Regions from separate parts of the Homo sapiens genome. Here region 1 is linked to region 2. Evidence: promoter capture Hi-C in 16 types of primary human blood cells and fetal thymus (Javierre and others, 2016). All regions are on one chromosome and are shown on one strand. Each heading gives the region's core, a stretch centred on a gene start or on the middle of the fragment in contact. The rest is flanking DNA. Distances are from core to core; before and after follow the strand shown. Region 1 has its middle 22 kb from the start of FSD1L. Region 2 holds the start of TMEM38B (transmembrane protein 38B).

Region 1 (5,956 bases), core at 976-3,475, 270 kb before region 2:
ATTGCCCCATTGCACTCCAGCCTGGGCAACAGAGCGAGGCTCGGTCTCATAAAATAAAATAAAATAAAATCTCAAGAATGTGCACATTTTTATCCAGCAATTCTGTGTTTAGAAATTAAGGACATGTGAAAAGATTTTGCTGCAAATCAGACTATTGTTCCTTGTTATAAAATATTGCAGCCAACCTGAATACCCAACAATAGAGAATCAGGTGAATGAATTATAATACATCTAAACCGCTTCTTCCTCTAACCTTTCATATCTCAGTAAATAGTAACACTGTTAAACCAGTTGTTCAAGCTGGTAACCTAGAATCATTAAATTTCCCTTTCTTTCAACTTGTCATTTTGAGTCTTGCCATTTTCCAAAATATACAAGGAGTCATCTTATAGATGTATTAACTTATGAGAGCAATAGATGTCATCAAGCCTAAAAGCCAATCTATCAAGAAAATCTGAATGCTTTTAAGGGTTTACTCACCATGGATATAGAAGGAAACATTGTTCAAGTAACCAGGTAAGTGGGTGTTGATTCCAACATCATGGAAGATGAAATTAAATTAATTGAGAGCCATAGGGAAATATGGACAAGGAAAAATTAAAAATAATAATATAGGGCTGCATACATAAAACACATATGTACAGTATTGTACTTTATGGATGATTTAAGAGATTTTTCAGAGTTAATTTTGATTAGATGCAATCAGTACAATCTTTAGATCCTGAACACCAGGCTCCCTGCTCTTGCCCTCCTCTCTCTGGTCCTCTTCCATGGGGCAAGGAGTCCACCATGGGATTAAGGGGACAGGCCCACCCTAAGCCTAATACCACTCTCCAGAATCCTAGTACCCTAGAACTCCCTCCCAAGACAAGGCCTGTATGAGTTTCTTCTCCAGATACTTCTTCCTAAGGATGGATACTGGCTGTGATTGTAGCAGGAGATGTGGCTGGAGCTTGCCCTTGTGGGCTCAGGTGTCCACAGGTAAGCGTGAGCAGCCCCTCCTAGTGTGGGCTGGGGCGAGGAGTGGGAAGAGAATGGGAGCAGAGTCTTCCATTTGTCCTCTTGCCTCAGACCTCACTAATGTTAGTAGTCATCCTGAATGCAATGTTTACTGCTAACTAGTCATACTAACTAACTTTCTCAGTCCCATATAGGATATGATCCCATTAGATCTCAACTTCAACTATTATATCAACAATGGTGATAAATAATTAGTATTTTAAAAGATAAGCAAAAATAAGAAAATTGGTTGGGTACAGTGTCTCACGCCTGTAATCCCAGCACTTTGGGAGGCCAAGGCAGGCGGATCACTTGAGGTCGGGAGTTCAAGACCAGCCTGGCCAACAAGGTGAAACCCCATCTCTACCAAAAGTACAAAAATTAGCCAGGCGTGATGGTGCACACCTGTAGTCTCAGATACTTGGGAGGCTGAGGCAGGAGAATTGCTTGAACCCAAGAGGTGGAGGTTGCAGTGAGCCGAGGTCAGACCATTGCACACTCCAGCCTGGGCAACAGAGTAAGACTCCATCTCAAAAAAAAAAAAAAGAAAAGAAAGAAAGAAAGAAAACTAACTACACTCACATTTTGTTAACTTAAATAACCATGGTAACACCTCACAGATTTTTAAACACATATATTTGGAATATATGGTAAATATGTATGTAGTATATATTCATATTTTAAAAACAAAAATGATTGTATTACCATAAAACCTACTTTTTTCACTTAAAGTTATATCATGTACAACATTCTATGTCAGTAATACCCATCGAACACACTATTTTTGGTGACTAAATGGCATTCCATTATATAGATTCCTTAATGCACACATACTATTGTACTACACAGTACTAAGCTTTGACATATACATTGTTAAACATGGTGCATACAGTTTGAAGGGGGAAACAGGTATTAACCAAACAGGAAAAAATACCTGAGCATAATTTGTGATGAAATGTCGTAAAGGAAAAGAACAAAATACTATGAGAGAAAATAATAGAGGTACATAATGTAGTTGCGGAAAGATCTGTTTGAGGGAAATAAGTTTGGTCTTGAAGGATGACGAATTTGGCATGTAAAAAGCTGAGGAAGAACATTCTAGGCAGAGAGAACTGTATATTTGGGGCCAGGTGTAGTGGCTCACGCCTGTAATCTCAGCACTTTGGGAGGTCGAGGCGGGCAGATCACCTGAGGTCAGGAGTTCGAAACCAACCTGGCCAACATGGTGAAACCCCGTCTCTACTAAAAATACAAAAATTAGCCGGGCGTGATGGCGGGTGCCTGTAATCCCAGCTACTTGGGAGGCTGAGGCAAGAGAATCGCTTGAACCTGGGTGGCAGAGGTTGCAGTGAGCCGAGATCATGCCACTGCACTCCAGCCTGGGCGGCAGAGCAAGACTCTGTCAAAAAACAAACAAACAAACAAAAAACCCTGTATATTTGGGAGCCTTGAGGCAGAAAATTCTTACTGGAAAGATGGTCACTGGGACTCGTAATCAGCAAGGCTGGGACAGATGAAGCTGGAGAGCTTCCACGCCATGCAAGGTGTTTTGCATTTTCAATCTGTGTAAGTAACATGATCTGATTTATATCTTAGAAAGCTTACTCTGCCTGTTCTGTGTAGGAGAATGGGTTGGGGCTCTGATGTAAGATGAAAGACTAGTTAGATGAGTATTTCAGTAGTCCAAAGGAGATGATGGGGACATATAGGAGAATATTTGTGTAATTTGGCCTTTCTATATAAACCATTTAATACTTCAAAATAAAATCTCAAATTTTCTGGGCTATATAATGCATTACTAATTCCACTAGGTGGCAATGGCATAGTTGTGAAGCAACACTGGAGAATGTCCTGGGGTTACTCAGTGCACTGCATTATTTCTAAGGTTATATTTTTTCAATGTTTGACCCTTGATTTACATTGACATTTACATTCCCTTTAAGTTCCAAAAATGTAATATATTTTACAGTTCTTGTTTTAAAATTATAATTTCAATAACTCCCTTGACTGGGAGAATGTGAAGGTCTTTGCCCACACATTTTTGGTTCCCCACTATTTCTTTGCATCTACTTAAAAAATAACAATAATGAAATAATATCAATTGCTATTTCTTGAGCAGCTTTTAGGAGTGAGTTATCATGCTGAGTATTTATATACATTACCTCATTTACTCATGCAGAGTAGATGTATTTCTTCTCATTTATAGACAAGAAAACAGAGACTAGGGAAGATTGGTAATTTGCCCAAATATTATCTGCCAGAACCTGAATTCAAGCCCAGTCTCTATAAACAAATTATTAAGTGGATAAATTGGTAAATAAGCAAATAAATGAGTAAGTAAACAGGATGATTATACACAGGTGAATTGAATAAATTGCTCATTATAGATAAAATATTAGTTACAACCAAGTAAAAAATATAACCCAAAATATGCAAGCATGACAAAATAATATTCTCATGACCCAAAGGTAAAGACAAGATACATATTAAATAATTCCTATCTTCTGTTTTTCCTTTTCCTTTTTTTTTTTTTCCTCGAGACAAAATCTTGCTTTGTTGCCCAGGCTGGAGTACAGTGGTGCGATCATGGCTCCCTCCAACCTCCGCCTCCTAGGCTCAAGCAGTTCTCCCATCTCAGCCTCTGGAGTAGCTGGGACTACAGGCCCACCGCGCTCAGCTAATTTTTTGTATTTTTTAGTAGAGGCAGTGTTTCACCATGTTAGCCAGGCTAGTCTTGAACTCCTGAGCTCAAGCGATCTACTCGCCTTGGCCTCCCAAAGTGCTGAGATTAAAGGCGTGAGCCACTGCACCTGGCCTATCTTCTCTTTCCCTTAACATATTAGAATTTCCCAATGGTGTTAAAACTTCCTTGAAAGCAGGACCAAGTTATAATATTCTTTCATTTGAATGTACTATATTCTATTCAATAATTCTCCTATAATTGAATTCAGCAATTTCCTCTCAAAATTAAGGGATTATTAATAATGCTATAATGATCATCTTTGTATAGAAATATGATGTCTTTAACTTATTTTTTTATAGAGACAGAGGTCTCACTACGTTGCTCAGGCTGGTCTCAAACTCCTGGGCTCAAGCAAGTCTCCTGCCTCAGCCTCCCAAAATGCCAGGATTCAGGGGTGAGCCACTGCACCCGGCCTCAGAAATATGATTTTTAATAGTGGAAGTATATTCCCTTTTATTAAACTTTTATTTATAATCTTTTTATTATAGAGATATCTTTGCCACCCTGCTAATTCTTTCCTTTAGATAGACTTCTGGAAAGGGAATTACTACATCAAGTGGTGAAGGCACTCTATGAATGTTGATACATATTGCCAAATTGCTCTCCAGAAAGGCTCTACCAATCCTTTGTACTAAAGTCTATGAATGTCACCATTTTCCACATCCGGCAGATACTCATATCATCATTCTTATCACCCTTAATAATAACGGCAAAAGATGACAGCCCTTTGTTATTTTAATTTGTATTTTTTAGTAATTTATTAGTCCTTTATGTTTCCTCTTCCGTAAATTCTGTATTCATGTCCTTTGCCATTTTGTTATTGAGATGTCACCATTTTTCCTACTGTTGAATAAAAGATTTTTATGTATTAGGGATACTAGTACTTTTTCGGTCATATTAGTAGCAAATCTTTTTCCTTCTTTGTAGTTTGTCTTTTAATTTTGCTGGTGATAATTTTACCTATAATCTATACGATGTAAATTTTTGATAATTTCCTTAAGCCCCCAAATCAGTAAATTTATTGATAATTCCCTTACGCCCCCAAATCAGTTAAATAGTTACCTATATTTTCTATTTTTAAAAAATTATTTTCTTTTATAAATTAAGATACAATTTATATTCTATTTTTAATGGTTTCCTTTCACTTTTTATACTTATTAATAGCTAGAAATAATTTTGTGATATAATATGGAGTCAGGCCCATTTGTTATGCAATTTATTCCTTCCCCCATCAACTTGTGTGGATATTTTGTCACATGGAGTAGATCTATGATATTCTAAGAAGTATAGTTGTTCAGAGTTTAGACTCTGTGATCAACCACATCTGGGTTCAGATCCTAGCTCTGCCATCTTTTTGGTCCTGGGCAAGTTACTTAGCCCATCTAATTCTCAGTTTCCCCATCTGTAAAAGACTGATTGTTGGGAGGATTCCATTATCCTGAGTATGCAGAACAGTCAGCATGGGCTGTGCTACCTAGGAAACATTTAGTACAGTATGCATTCACTACTAGAATTATGACTATGATATCGATGAAGTTATTCATAACTTTTTTTTTTGAGATGGAGTCTCGTTCCCATTGCGCAGGCTGGAGGGCAGTGGCGCAATCTCGGCGCCCTACAGCCTCCGCCTCCTGGGTTTAAGCGATTCTCCTGCCTCACCCTCTGGAGTTGTAGTAGCTGGGACTACAGGCACGCGCCACCACGCCCAGCTAATTTTTGTATTTTTAGTAGAGTCAGGGTTTCACCATGTTGGCCAGGATGGTCTCGATCTCCTGACCTCGTGATCCGCCTGCCTTAGCCTCCCAGAGTGCTGGGATTACAGGCATGAGCCACCACACCCGGCCGGTTATTCATAACTTTAATAAATTCGGATATTCTTGAATGGTGCAGGAATACTCACTTCAAACTTTTAATGAGTTACTGGGCATATGGTCAAAAAATAAAACAAAGCTGCATTCACATCTCCACAGTGGCTGTTTCCTTGTCTCACTCACAGGTAAGTGATACGCTTCCACATCCACAGGGCACACAATTCGTATCTTGCCTTAAAAGGAAGAACTGAAAGGATATAAAACCAGATTATCTCAAAGGTTAGAGTGATTTAGGAGTAGGGCTTTTCTGTATTACTTTAATCTTTTTGGTTTGTTTTCGTTTTTGTTTTGAGACGAGGTCTGGCTCTGTCATCCAGGCTGGAGTGCAGTGGCACGATCACAG
Region 2 (5,840 bases), core at 3,129-5,628:
TTACTAGTTTATATTAGTGGTATGAATGACGATTATAGAAAAGGATTTTAGTTTCCAGTGCAATAAATAAGTGAGCCATGTCAGGTTTTCCAAGACACAATATCAAAGGCACTATTATTAGATACATGCTGAGTCTAAAGAGTTGAGTGTATACTTGAATTGGTTGCACTTAAATCTCATGCACTGGCATCTAATTGTACTGATTGAATTCAGTGGGTATTTTGAGGGCAATTGGTGCTCTCTAGCTAATTCTCCTTGATAATCCTGAATATTAAAAAAGGTTGAATTCAAATTACATATACTTTGTCTTAAATGTCACATATTAATACATTATCATTTGATACAGTGTGGCTATCAAGTGCTTATCAAAACAACTTTAGAATGAAAATGCCAGACCAAGATACTAAGGTTTAGGAGTGCAATTGGTCCCTTTAATATGAAACTTGCAAATCGGGGACTCTAAGGTACCTTAAAAAGTTCAATAGCGTGGTAGGGTGACTATAGTTAACGATAGTATATTGTTTATTTCAAAATGGCTAGATGAGATGATTTGATTGATAGACCTTTAAGATTCAAGAGAGAAAAACAAAAAAGATGATTTGAAATGTTCCCAACACAAAGAAATGATAAATGTTTGAGGTGGTGGATAGGCTAAATGCCTTGATTTGATTATAACACGTTGTGTGCACATATCAAAATATCACATGTACCTCATAAATATGTGCAAGTATGATGTATTAATAAAAAAATAAAATAAAAAGTTATTATTATAGATTTCCCAAAGTGAAAGGCATGCCACTTAGTGGGTAGAAAGCAGTATTGCAGGGAAGAAACAGCTAGGATTGCGTGTATGATACTGGGTTTCAGGATATTGTCAGTTTGACCCAGGAAGATGGATGTGTAAACTGAAACTAAGAAGGGTTATACAATTATTCTAGAATTAAAGAGATAAGGAACATTAGTGACATGACCATATTGTTTGTATTAATAGAGGCATATATTGTTGAAGAAAGCATTTATTCATTTATAGCAGTAGTTCTGAACCAGGGGTGATCTTGTGTCCCCCAACCCCTGCCCCTGCCCCAGAAGACATTTGGCAAAGCCAAGACATTTTTGGTTGTTGCAAGTGGAGTGTGTGTGTGTGTGCGTGTGTGCATGGTCCTGGCATCTAGTACCAGTGATGCTGCTAAACATCATACAATGCAAGCACAGTCCACCATGACAAAGAATTGTTTAGCCCCAAATGTTAATCATGCTGGTGCTGCAAAACCTGGTTTATAAAAATTAGATTCACATATTTTTGAACTAAAAAGTGCCTCCAACAGGTTTAGTCAAAACTCTTCTTCAGGCCGGGTGCGGTGGCTTACGCAGTAATCCCAGCACTTTGGGAGGCTGAGCAGGTGGATCACCTGAGTTCAGGAGTTCGACCAGCCTGGCTAGCCTGGCCAACATGGTAAAAACCCGTCTCTACTAAAAATACAAAAAATTAGCTGGGTGTGGTGGCAGGCACCTGTAATCCCAGCTACTCGGGAGGCTGAGGCAGGAGAATTGCTTGAACCTGGGAGGTAGAGGTTGCAGTGAGCCATGATTGTGCCACTGCACTCCAGCCTGGGCAACAAGAGCGAAACTCAGTCTCAAGTAAACAAACAAACAAACAAACAAAACAAAACGAAAAAACACCCCACAGAACTCATTTTTGGATATTAATACAATTAGACCAGTTTGGCTTCCTAATGAATAAGCTATACTTTGTAAATTGGATTCATTTTATCACCAATAATTATGTAATTTTGTATACTGCTTCCAAAAGTCAGGAAAACTTTGAATCTTCACATGTAATTCTCCCAAATCTTGCCTTTCCTTCTCACCAATTTAAAGGTAATTGGTAATTAAAATGCAATTGGTCCATTTAATGTAAAACTTCCTAATTGTGGACTCTAAGGTACTTTAAAAAGTTCAATAGCATGGTAATTTAAAGGTAAGAAGGAAAGGGGTCTTTCCATCCTCCATTTCCTCCTACAATGCTCATTTTAATAGACTAAATAACTCAACCACTGACCAGAAGCAAATACGGTGAGCGCATTTAAAATGTAGATGGAACTTGCCTTTTTTGTGAGATTAGGATTTAATTTCCCCTAGACCTTTATAAGGAAATTTCTTTAGGCTCTAGGCAGATAGGACCAAGCTTATTCTTACTGTTTTGAAATGCAACAATTTTCAAATTATCTTTAGAGTCTGAGATAATTAATTCCTTTCTATTGGAATTATTCTGTTTAAGCAAGTAAAGTGCTTGATTTACTTCCTTAAAAAAACCTCTGATGTTATTCATTTTGCCTTATTGATGTTAATAATGGATTTAATGGTACCCCAGAATAATACTGGTATAGACACACAATTCAGTAGTGTCTTAAAGATTACATCATATATTTTTTTAAGTCCAAAGACTAACCATATATTTTGCAAAATTTAAGACTGTTAAAATGTAAAATATTTAAAGAAATAATATCCAGGCTGGGTGTGAGTGGCTCACGCCTGTAATCCCAGCACTTTGGGAGGCCAAGGCGGGCGGATCATGAGGTCAGGAGTTCCAAACCATCCTGGCCAACATGGTGAAACCCCGTCTGTACTAAAAATACAAAAAAAACGTGGTGGCACGTGCCTTTAATCCCAGCTACTCGGGAGGCTGAGGCAGGAGAATCGCTTGAATCAGCGAGTTGGGGGTTGCAGTGAGCCGAGATCGCGCCACTGCACTCGTCTGGCAACAGAGCAAGATTACATATCAAAAAAAAAAAAAAAAAAAAAAAAAAAAAACAAGAAAAGAAAAAAAAGAAGTAATATCCAAACTCTGAGCCTAAATTCGCAAAACTAAAATTCCAAAAATAAGCGAATGTGTAAAAAGTATGGAAAGAACAGACTTAAACAGGAAAGTATAAATATTCACAGGTGGTTTTTTTCCCCTTAGTTTTGCTAGAAAGTGTGCTACAGGTCTAAAGACTTTTCTCTACGGGAAGTGCTTGCTTAGAAAACCACACGTGAAAAGTATTTGAACAAGTCTATTCTTTCTTGATAAGTAATGAAGTGTAGAGATTTACTACAATTTTCCTACGTTTTAAACACTTAGTGTTTAGGGCAGTATTTCTGACATCCAGCAAAATGCTGGTTACATAGTAGGCACGCAAAAAACATTTTGTTAAATGAATTAAAATTAATGAATACATATTCAGATAAAAAAAATTCTCCTTTTGCAGTGCATACACCCGTGAAGCTGTCACCTACCTAGCAGCTAATCACGTTTCTCCAATTTCCTGGTGCCAGCATAATCTGTTCACACATCAAATAAGTGTGCCAAGCTAGTTTTTTTTCTTACCCAAACCTATTCCTTCTTGTTTCCTATTTATCAGAATGCAACCACAATCCTCCTACTCACCCGTTCCTCATTTTATTTGACAAATGCTTCCTTTCCCGCCTGTACAGACTGACACTCACTGACGATATTCTGCTTCTACCCATGTTTCCCACAATTGGTCTCAATTTCTGCTGCCACAGCCTCCACTACCTTTTGCTTGGACCAGTGAATACCCTCTGATTTTCCGTTGTCAGTCGCTTCTCATCAATCTATTCTTAATCTTGTTGCTTCGTTGCACCTCTACTCCCTCACCTTCCACCAAACAACCCAGTTAGCGTAGAGATTAGGAGAAGAGATTCTGGCTCTGAGCTTAACATAGTGATTGATCAAGAATTTAACCTCTGGAGCCAAACTGCCTGGCTTTGTCTGCCATTCGAGGACTTTTCCCAACCTCATTTCTCACTTTGTAGTCAACCCAAAACACCTCCCTCCATCTCCCACCTAGCTTGTGTTTCTCACTTAACTTTTAAAGTCCAGCTCACATGTCACTTTACTCACTTCCCAGAATTGTAATCTTCGTTTCGAACTGCTCTCGCACGGCAGCTATACTTCTCAGTACCTGCTTTTGTACCATTATGTGCGTTTTTTCTCTTTTTATAAAAAATCTCTTTCAGGGAACGCATAGTTCTTGAGGTCAGGATATTATTGTTTTATTTTTATATCTCCAGTAAGTCACAGTGTGACTTGCACTGTGGTTGCTCGATAAATGTTAGGTGAATGACATCAATTTACAGAAATAAATCCAACTCTGAGCGTCTCCCCTTGAGGACCGTGTTTTGTTCATCTGCACGCTCTCCAGGTCCTGCACTGCGCCCAGGACCAAGAAGACGCTGGACCCTTACTAGGAGAACCGAGGCAAGAGCCGGCTGGAGCCGCGGGGAACCCGCTCGCCCCGCCCACCCGCCTAGCGCCGGTGAGCCTGCGGCTCCCGCGAAGCGCGGCCCCGCCCCCTCGGCGCCAGGGCGCACGCGCGGAGCTGGAGCCGGCGCGGAGGAGCGGGCGGCCGCGGCTGTGCCCTCTCCTACTCCTCACCGCGCGAGCGCGGGGAACCAGTAGCCGCGGCTGCTTCGGTTGCCGCGGTCGGTGGTCGTTATGGATTCTCCATGGGACGAGTTGGCTCTGGCCTTCTCCCGCACGTCCATGTTTCCCTTTTTTGACATCGCGCACTATCTAGTGTCAGTGATGGCGGTGAAACGTCAGCCGGGTGAGTGCGGGGCGCCGCGGGCCGGACCCCTCAGAGTGCTCCTGACGGCGAGGACCGTCTAAGTCGGGTGGGTCGGGTGGGTCGGGTGGGCGGCTGAGTGGCCGCTAGCCCAGACAGTTCGATGGTAGAGTTGGAGGGGCGCCAAGGGCCGGTTGGTCTGACTTACTGAGTGCAGATGGGGAAACAGCGTGGGGGAGGACGGAGGCTCTAGTACTCCTCAAAGGAGGCGTGACCTGGGGTCCGCGAGGCCGTAGCCTGGGCGAGCAGGGCCGACCTTGCCAACCGCCCGCAGAAGTCCCAGGACTGACAGAAGCTGCCGCAGCGTTTCGGAACCACAGATATCCGCGCCAGCCCAGGGCTTGGGCGGCCTCCTCGCGGTACCGCCACTCGCTCGCAGTGTCGCCACTCGCTCGCAGTGTCGCCACTCGCTCGCAGTGTTTGAAAGTCATGTGAGGAGACAGCAGGTTTCTGACTCAGTCTCTTGGAGTAATAGATGGTTGCGGACTACTCTCCAGTTATGAAAGTTGTACAAGCACTGAAACAAAAAGCCTCCTGTAGCCAGACCAGGATTCCCCTTCACGCAGTGTCCTAACACCCTGCCTAGCATGTGAGAAGCGAGTGCGTTCCCCTTTTCACAGTCACGACGGACACTGTACAAGCAAGAGTTACCTGGCGTAGTTTCACTATCTGCAGAATGGGGATATAGTCTTGAAACAGCATTTTGAGTTCTTTTAGCAATGCGATCAAGGGACAGTAGTTGTATTTTATTGGATTTTACACCAGGGTGCGTTTGCTCTAATACTGCTTTACTTTTGTAGTTATTCTACTGTGCTTTTAGTTGTATGGACCTCTTCTTTCTTTGAGGTCAGACATTTCTTTGCCTACTTTCTTTGTGTTCTTGCTGTCTTTCATCTGCCTTGCCCTACGGATAGTTGATGAGTGAGGTCTGGAGGATGATGCTGTATCTTTCTTATGGACTACTTACTGGTTTTAAAAAATCCTTAGACCTCAGAAATATTTTTCATTTATGTTGAAGTTTGTAGCTCAGTTTAAATCGTTGGTACAAATTTTGACCTGGATGAGGATGGTATTACTGCATTAAAGTAGAACACATTATCTGCATAAGATATTATTTCTTTGATTTGAAAAAAGTAAGTTTTGTTGCTACTACATGTTCAGAATTTGATTAAAAAAATTTTTTTTTGTATAGGCTGAATCAGATGTTCACAT

Evidence for each region. Contacts are between HindIII fragments. The CHiCAGO score rates a contact against its expected background, and 5 or more counts as called.
Region 1: a contact is called between a fragment that was not itself captured here and the fragment with the promoter of TMEM38B in region 2, in 3 of 17 cell types (M2 macrophages, megakaryocytes and M1 macrophages). The highest score is 6.5, in M2 macrophages.

What each region holds. Positions count from the first base shown.
Region 1 is chr9:105,423,418-105,429,373 of GRCh38, forward strand. It overlaps a transcript of SLC44A1 not described here. Among named protein-coding and RNA genes, the nearest start is that of FSD1L, 22 kb to the right of the region's middle. The HindIII fragment of the contact is 744 bases long and covers 1,854-2,597 here.
Region 2 is chr9:105,690,163-105,696,002 of GRCh38, forward strand. It overlaps TMEM38B (transmembrane protein 38B), which reads left to right and starts at 4,379. Exons shown (of 6, transcript NM_018112.3): 1 at 4,379-4,610. The coding sequence starts at 4,499. RefSeq lists a silencer at 4,213-4,482. The HindIII fragment of the contact is 6,405 bases long and covers 2,184-5,840 here.